Linked DNA regions of Homo sapiens: all the other regions are linked to region 1. The links are contacts of gene promoters, found by promoter capture Hi-C in blood cells and fetal thymus (Javierre and others, 2016). All regions are on one chromosome and are shown on one strand. Each heading gives the region's core, a stretch centred on a gene start or on the middle of the fragment in contact. The rest is flanking DNA. Distances are from core to core; before and after follow the strand shown. Region 1 holds the start of SMIM21 (small integral membrane protein 21). Region 2 overlaps ZNF407 (zinc finger protein 407). Region 3 overlaps ZNF407 (zinc finger protein 407).

Evidence for each region. Contacts are between HindIII fragments. The CHiCAGO score rates a contact against its expected background, and 5 or more counts as called.
Region 2: a contact is called between a fragment that was not itself captured here and the fragment with the promoter of SMIM21 in region 1, in 2 of 17 cell types (M0 macrophages and M1 macrophages). The highest score is 7.8, in M0 macrophages.
Region 3: a contact is called between a fragment that was not itself captured here and the fragment with the promoter of SMIM21 in region 1, in 2 of 17 cell types (non-activated CD4 T cells and naive CD8 T cells). The highest score is 5.7, in non-activated CD4 T cells.

The regions. Positions count from the first base shown.
Region 1 is chr18:75,426,345-75,429,142 of GRCh38, reverse strand. SMIM21 (small integral membrane protein 21) reads left to right here and starts at 1,440. Exons shown (of 3, transcript NM_001037331.3): 1 at 1,440-1,708. The coding sequence starts at 1,580. LOC105372200 (a long non-coding RNA gene) reads right to left here. Exons shown (of 4, transcript XR_935636.3): 4 at 2,482-2,798. The HindIII fragment of the contact is 2,673 bases long and covers 1,272-2,798 here.
Region 2 is chr18:74,649,043-74,651,840 of GRCh38, reverse strand. The region is part of intron 3 of ZNF407 (zinc finger protein 407); the gene reads right to left. Among named protein-coding and RNA genes, the nearest start is that of ZNF407, 53 kb to the right of the region's middle. The HindIII fragment of the contact is 4,748 bases long and covers 1-2,798 here.
Region 3 is chr18:74,674,047-74,676,844 of GRCh38, reverse strand. The region is part of intron 3 of ZNF407 (zinc finger protein 407); the gene reads right to left. Among named protein-coding and RNA genes, the nearest start is that of ZNF407, 78 kb to the right of the region's middle. The HindIII fragment of the contact is 167 bases long and covers 1,255-1,421 here.

The DNA.
Region 1 (2,798 bases), core at 191-2,690:
ATAAACATGATTATGGTTGTTTTTTCCCCTAAGTCTAGTTGGCAGAGAGCAACTTCGTCCCTCCTTGGCACCTGTCTCAACTGTCATAGACCAAGCTGTCCCTCCTAGATGAGGTCTCTTTCCACCCCCTACACCCCACTGTCTTTTAGCAGCTGGAAGTTTAAGGCCTGTGGGAAATTGAAGATTAATTTTTAGTCAGTGTTTTTTTTTTCTCTTTTCTTTAAATCACCAACTCTGAGAATTCTAGATGTTACTCTGCATATGTGTGCTCCACAACTATCAACTTTCACAATTTGGGATCTGCTACAAAACGGGCTTCCGAGCTCCCTTCCTGTCCCTCCACACAGGTCTCAAGCCTCCTCTGTCTCTGCTCCCTCTGCACGTTTCTGCCTTTCCCTTGTCCATGGCCTTGGTGGGACCCACCATTTTTTGCTCTTCTTTCTAGAGAATGAGTCTTGTCTCCAACTAGATGGGAAAAACCACTCAGGACAAGACCATCAGAACAGCACTGGGCTACTGATTTGTATGCTGTGCATATGGTCACTGTTCACATAATAACAGGTATTTTCTTAGTCATACTGTGCGTCAAGCACAGTGCATACTGTCCTGGGCATTTTTACTCAACACCAACACTGTGGAGCACCCATCATGAGCTTCTGTAGGCTGGGACTCACAACTATGTGCATCTCTCTTCATCAGGCACCTTGTCAAAAGCCATCCACACTATGGGGATAACGCTGCAAGTATTTGGTGAACGTGTGTGTGTTAAGTACCACTTAATTTTCCGCTCATTGGGCACCATTTACAAACAGTGGAAGATCTGTGAAAATTCCCATGAGGCAGCACAGCAGCATCCAGAGGCCACCACACACGTCTCATGGCTACTCTCCACCCTGCGATGATGGTCTGCACAGCGCTTCTTCCTGGGGTAGCTCCCAAGTAACCTCCATTCAGCTTTCCTCCTGCTGTTCCATGGTGCTTGTCTTCCAGCAGAATCTCTCTCACTTTAACAATTAAATGGACAACCCAGGAAACCTACACTTGGAATTCAGCGAAAGAAATGTTAGTCTCCTGTGGAGTGTCTCATTAGGTTAAAAGAAAGTTACTGAAAAGTCTGATGGGAAAATGAATTTCTACATTTTGCTTAGGGCCCAAAAAGAATCCCAGATTTTATTTCCATTGAAGTGCATATAGTAGTATTTATTTTGATTCAGGGAGATGCGGTTCATTTTTAATATTCACAAAAGCTTCTTGACATCAGATCCAAAGCTTGTGCTGTGGAGATATGGTTGAACATTCTCACACAGCATCACTGAGCCAGAGAGCAACCTGAGAAACCTCAGAACTCCATGTGCGGGAAGATTCCATCCGACTTCATAAAATAATACCTGGACCTGAGAACTCTACATGTGGGAAGATTCCATCCAGCTTCATAAAATAATACCCAGATCTTCAAGGTTGGCAAAGAAGAGAAAAGCTCCTTGGGAACTTAGTTACCAGGTCTTATAGCACCAGCTCTGTGTCCTCAGAGTCGCTGTCATCAAGGAGACCTCTCACTGGTCACCGCCGCAGCCCCCACATGGACCAGTATGTGTCCACAGCTCCTCCCCGATTCCCTATAGCACAGCTGGGAACATTTAAACAAGACTCTGCAGGAATGGGACGGATATTCAAGGGGAATTTGCTGCAGAAGAAAGCACTTACCACAGTGAGTTTATGGGTCTTTAACTTTGGGTTATGAGAGAGACGTATCACTGCACAGGTATGGTCCTACAAAGCACTCTTTTGCCCCAATCTCCTGTGAGTGCTCTGTCTCTCAAATCCAGATTCTACGAAGTTTAAGATGAGACGTCAATCCAGAGCTCTTTCTTTCTCAGTTCTGGCCAAGACAACCTCCCAATTCCAATTCCCAATCTGAGGAAGAGCTGCCCCTTTCAGAAAAGGTACTGGGCCCTCCCCTTGACATTACATCAGTATACAGGCCAATGAGTCAATGATCTCTCCCCTACAGAGAGAGCCTCTTAACACAGATGCAAGGATACCTCCAAATGCTTTAAGCCTAGGTGCACCTGCAACACCTACAAACTCAACCTACCCAGACAAATTTGATACTGCACTCCTAGAAGAAAGTTTCTTTTCCTTCATTACAGGACAGAAGCAAAAGTTGCAACAAATTTAACCATTCATGAACCAGTAGCCAATGTGCAGGCAACAGATGGCATTTATAGACACCCCATTTGCAGAGGTGATGGGGTGATCAATAGCTTCTGAAAAGGAAGTTTATGACCCAGTCATATATCGGAAAGGTTAAAGTCCTAAGACAAAATTTCTGGAATGTCTTCTCCTGTAGCACAGGGTTCCTCTTAGTGTTTCTGACTGTGAAGAGGAGATGGATGGGAGCAGGCAGGTAGCATCTCCTTCCTCTGTCTTGATCCCCACTGCTGCTTCTTTATTTCCTTTTCCTTTTTCCATTTTTTTTTTTTTTTTTTTTTTTTTTTTTTTTTTTTTTTTACATTTTAAAAGTAATGGTCTAGGGCCGGGTGCAGTGGCTCATGCCTGTAATCTCAGCACTTTGGGAGGCCGAGGCGAGGAGATCACAAGGTCAGGAGATTGATACTATCCTGGCTAACACAGTGAAACCCCATCTCTACTAGAAATACAAAAAATTAGCCAGTCGTGGTGGCGGGCACTTGTAGTCCCAGCTACTTGGGAGGCTGAGGCAGGAGAATGGTGTGAACCCGGGAGGCAGAGCTTGCAGTGAGCCGAGATTGTGCCACTGCACTCCAGGCTGGGTGACA
Region 2 (2,798 bases), core at 75-2,574, 780 kb after region 1:
TCACTCTGGCATCAATTAAATCATGAACTGTCATCTTGATTGCTCTCTTTGTTGAGGGACAGCACATTTCCATCTAAGGATCACCTCGGCTTTATATCTCTGCAAGACAATTCATAATTCTGAGCAGCAGAATGAATGCACAAATTACATTCTTCAACCTTTTACTCCCACTAAATCTTTCCTTTTTTCCACTTTGCTGAGCCTGAATATTTTATTCCTCCATCAAATATGCATCCCATTAATTAAGTTAAATTACTTCTGACTGCCAAATATTCTCTGTCGATGACTGTCAACAGAAAATACATGGCTGTGAACTTCTAATGACACAGTCTCGCTTAAACATGAGTTACAACCTTCACGCAGGCATCTACAGGCAAATTATCGGCCTCTTCTTCAAAACCGGGCTGAAATTAAATGCTGGTTTCTTTTTCTTCAGCTTTTAACAAGTACACAATAGATGACACTCGTACTTGACAAAGCAAGTACTGCAATTTTAATTATATACCTTTTCCTCATCTTTTAATTGCTGTTGTTAATCAGTCATTAACTTCTTCCCAAAGTGCAAGATTCTTAAATCTCCTTCAAAACATTTCGGCTCAATAAATTCCATCGCTCTTCATAACTAACATATAATTTTGTCTATTTTTAAAACTGTCATTTTCCAAACAGGGTATTTTTAATGTGCTCTTTAAGGATGACAGTAACAGGGTTTTAATCATAACTTGCATAAAATTATCACTCTCTAACACATCAAGACTAAAACAACCCAGAAAGACTTAAATGGGTTGTTTAAGAATAATTTTGTAACATAAACACCAAAATTTCTATCTTTACCCTTGAGCTACAGTCCCACCAAGCTAAGGGGGGAAATATTATATTTATATATAGATAGATAGATAGATAGACACACACACACATATATAGCAATTTCTTGCCCCCTCCACTACAGAAATGGAAATGTAGTTCTCAATAATTTATTATGCTCTCTATCACAGTATAATCATTAGTGCAAAAATATTTAATTACAGTGAAACTGTTATGACATTACTATAAAGCCAGTAAATTTTTTTCTACACCTTAAGATAATGTGTTCTTTGGGGTAACAAACAATATTCCCGTGGCCCACCCCTTCCATGAATACTTCAAAAATGCCACCTAGGCCCTATGTAAGTGTTCTCTGTCTCTCTCACAAAGAGAACCTGCAAAGTCTGTGAGTTTGCCTGTTTCATACATGAGCCCACCCTAAAGTGTATGACCAAGTGCAGACCCCTGTCAACCAAACTACCTAGAAAGAGTGACTAACAGGATGTCTGCTGAACTACACCAACACAGCAGTCATCAACCTAACTTGTCTGTGGATGCAGAAAGGTGCTCCGTTTCTCTCAATGTTTACAAGTCTCTAAATCTCAATGGGGCTTCTTTTGAAGTACTGCAGCAATTCAAAACAAAGAAATTGTCAGTCTTTGCATCCCTTAAAGTGACTAGGCAGGAGTGCTACATGATGCAGACTAAGTAAGCACCAACAATTGTAAACGATACCATGCACAGAGACCATATAGTCCATCAGATACTAGCTGAAAAGGAACTTTTCAGCTAAGAACTAAGAGACAGCAGGGAGGGGTGGCAGGGGAAATAAAATTATTCTGCCAATGGGCACTAGTCAAACAGACTATGACAAAGACATTTTCGATTATTTGTTCCTAATACAAAATAAAGTGAAATGCTATTTTTGACAATCCAGCTGATTTTAGATATAATTCACATTGCCCATGTTCTATCATCTTAAGGAAAAGAGAAAACAGTTGCCTCACAATGAATACCCAAATTGCTTGTGTATCTTCATCACTTAATAGTTAATTCTATCCTTTGATAGAAGTGACCATCTAAACTCAAAAGGAATTATAATAGATTCACCACTGTTGGTTACTGAAACTAGAGTTCCCACGTTTGGCACTCAGAAAATGTTTGAAAATGAATGGACGAATGTTGATCAATTAATTAACTTTGCTGCTTAAACCTGTGTCCATTATTTCCCTTGTTAAAAAGAATGGTAGCTAAAAATAGTGAGACTGAAAAGTTTAAGAGCTACATTAAAGCTAATTAGAATGCCAGTGGGATAAAATAGAAACAGCCCTGACCCGAGAGTCACAAGTCCTGGGTTCTTGTCTCCATTTGTGAAAAGTCACTTAAGCTCTTGACCCAAATTTCTTTACCTGTCCACTAGATGGATTGGACCAGGCAACAGTGTAAGTTCTAAAACCCTATTTTTAAAATAAATTTTAGTGGTGAATACTAAAATGTCTTTAATATTTAAACACATTCCAATTTTTCAGACTAGCACAAATTTATGTTGTGAAGCATTTGACTATCAATGTCCCTAGCCACAATGTAAAAAATCATACTTATTTTCTAATATTATAATGATAATTACCAGATGTGTTGACATAAGACCACTTTCACCTATTTCACTTACAGCAGCACTTCTAAAATAGACTAGAGACCATCTTACATTTAGCCAGATTTTATAAGAATTTTCCAGTACCCCATTAACACATGTAATGGTGACAGCGTAATTATGATGCAAATTAACACTTTATTGGTCCTTCAAAAACAACCATCCCTTGAGCCCAGCTCAATATATTCTTATAGTACCTCAGCAGTAAATAGGACTTTTTAAAATTGAGTGGAAATAGCAAACCAAAAATAACTTTCTAAAAATTTGTATATCTAGATAGTAGCATATTCTACAGTGCTTGAAACTGCTATTTCTCAGTACTTTGCTACTTAGACAACAGACT
Region 3 (2,798 bases), core at 89-2,588, 750 kb after region 1:
TCTTGGATAAACTGATAATCTTTCAGATTACGCTATAAGCCCTCACAAGAGTGTCAGTGGCTTGGAAAAATACCCCAAAGACATAGTGAATCATTATTTTTAAAAAATACTGGCCGGGCACAGTGGCTCACGTCTGTAATCCCAGCATTCTGGGAGGCCAAGGCGGGCAGATCACGAGGTCAGGAGATCGAGACCATCCTGGCTAACACGGTGAAACCCCGTCTCTACTAAAAATACAAAATTACCCGGGCACGGTGGTGGGCGCCTGTAGTCCCAGCTACTCGGGAGGTTGAGGCAGGAGAATGGCGTGAACCCGGGAGGCGGAGCTTGCAGTGAGCCGAGATCCCGCCACTGCACTCCAGCCTGGGTGACAGAGCGAGACTCCGTCTCAAAAAAAAAAAAAAAAATGCTATATCACCCATTCTCTTGGTGGCAAAGAAAACAATATTCTAGGCCGGGACACAGTGGCTCATGCCTATAATCCTAGCACTTTGGAAGGAGAAGGCAGGCGGATTGCCTGAGCTCAGGAGTTTGAGACCAGCCTGGGCAACACAGTGAAACCCTGTCTCTACTAAAACACAAAAAATTAGCCGGGCGTGGCAGCATGCATCTGTAATCCCAGCTACTCAGGAGGCTGAGGCTGAGGAATCGTTTGAACCCAGGAGGTGGAGTTTGCAGTGAGCCGAGATCGTGCCACTGTACTCCAGCCTGGGTGACAGAGCAAGATTCCATCTCCAAAAAAAAAAAATTCTAAGAGGAAGCACAGGCATCAAAAAAATGTAAGTTGAAAAGTGATTCAGAAGTAGTAGAACTTGAATGTAGACTTGTTTTATTTTCTTTTTATACATGCAGAAGCATAATATATTTTTAAACTACCTAAATGATGTGTAAAACAACTTTTTTTATATATAAAATAAAAATTCTAATAGGAAAACAACAACAATGAAGGCTTTAAACGTCTATAGGTTTGAAAGGTCTACAGAGTTAAATGCTTGATAACAATGGTGTAGTCACTGGGAGGGAAATGAGTGGGATTCAAGTGTTCAAGATCCTCGAATTGTCGGAAAGAGGGTAAAAGTACCACTTAATATTAAACATGGATAAGTCAAGGATAATGGTGTAATTGCTAGGGTAACCATTAAAACCAAAAAGGGTATATAACTTCAAAGCTAACAGCGTAACAGGAACTAAAATCAGAAAAGCTATGCAATAAAAGGCAAAAAAGGAAAGACAGCACAGAAAAGACAGAAAGCTTTCTCTCCTTTTTACACGTCCTCTTACAATACTCTGCTTTATATTACTTTTCTTTGTTTGACTCTACTACTTATTTTAGATGCCTGTCTCTGTGTGTTCTTCCCAATATCTGGAACACATAAAAAATACATTCATTTATTCATTCGCCACAAACAGTAAGTGAAGCTTACTATGAGGGAGGATACTGCTTAAGAGGCTAAAGAAAGGAAAATGCACAAAGTTCTTACTCTTAAGGAACTTACACTCAAGTGGGAGAGACTGACAATAAAGAAGGAAATAAATATACAAAGTACTTTTTCGGTAAGTGATCTATGAAGAAACATAAGAGGTTAAGTGATGAGTGGCTGGTCAAGAAAAGGCAACTGAACCTACACCCAAATGTTAACAAAGAGCCAGCAGAGACAGAGAAAGCATAAGTATAAAGGCCCCTCAGGCAGAAACATGCTTGGCAACTTCAAGGGACAGATAAGGCCAACAGAGTAGTGAGCAGTTAGTGAGTAGAGAGTGACAGGAAATGCAAGAAAAGTTTTGGGACACAAATAAGGGATTCTATTTGGACCATATTAAGTTTGAGACATCTTCAGAAAACACAAACCAACATTTCAAATAAGCAATAAAATGCACAAGTCTGGTGCCCAAAGAAAAAAACTCAAGACTAGAGATATACATTTGGTGATTAGTCACAGAGACACTTTTTAAAGCCATGTTATTAATGGACACTACCCAGCGAGGGGGTATGGATCAGAAATTACCTAACTACAACATTCAGCCAAATCCTGTCAGCCACCCATCTTCGTAAGCAGAAACATAGCCACACTAACTCATTTACACATTGCCTATTGCTGTTTCACTAGAGGAATAGAGCTATCTGGCCTTTGTCAGAAAAGTTTACTAATCCCTGGTGTAAGCAGACAAGGGATGGATCCCAGAGCCAAGCCCTGGGGTAGTTCAACATTTACAAGTTAGGTAGAGATAGTGGTAGAGGTAGTGAAGAAGCAGAAAATAAGACTACAAAGAGAGATATAATAAACAAAACCAAAATAATACCAGGATACTATGGTGTCAGAGAAGCCATGAAAAAAGTATTTTAAGGACAAAGTGGGCAAAGGTATTGATCATTGACCACTTGATAACAGAGAATTTGGTAAGATGAAGATATTTGGTAATGTGTTAATATATTTTCAGAGAACAGTGGGCTGTAAACCAGCTACAGGATGACAGAGGTAGGGACCTGATCTGCAAACTTTGACAACTTTCATGATGTCAGCACTCCCAATTTCAAGCTATAAAGTCCTGGATCTCTAACAAGTGGTTCTCACGAGCCACCACAGCCATATGCTCCAGCTCCAGCACAGCACTGGTTTCAGCGGAGTGGCAGGCAAAGGCCTGAGAAAGGACACATTAAGTGGTGAGGGAGTGAAGGTAGCAACCATGGAAGGGTTAAAAACAAAAGCCTTAGATTTTCCAGAAATAAACAAAACTAGTTAAATCTCCATATTAATGAGACGAAGCATCAAAACTTAAAATAATCGTAAAATGCATCA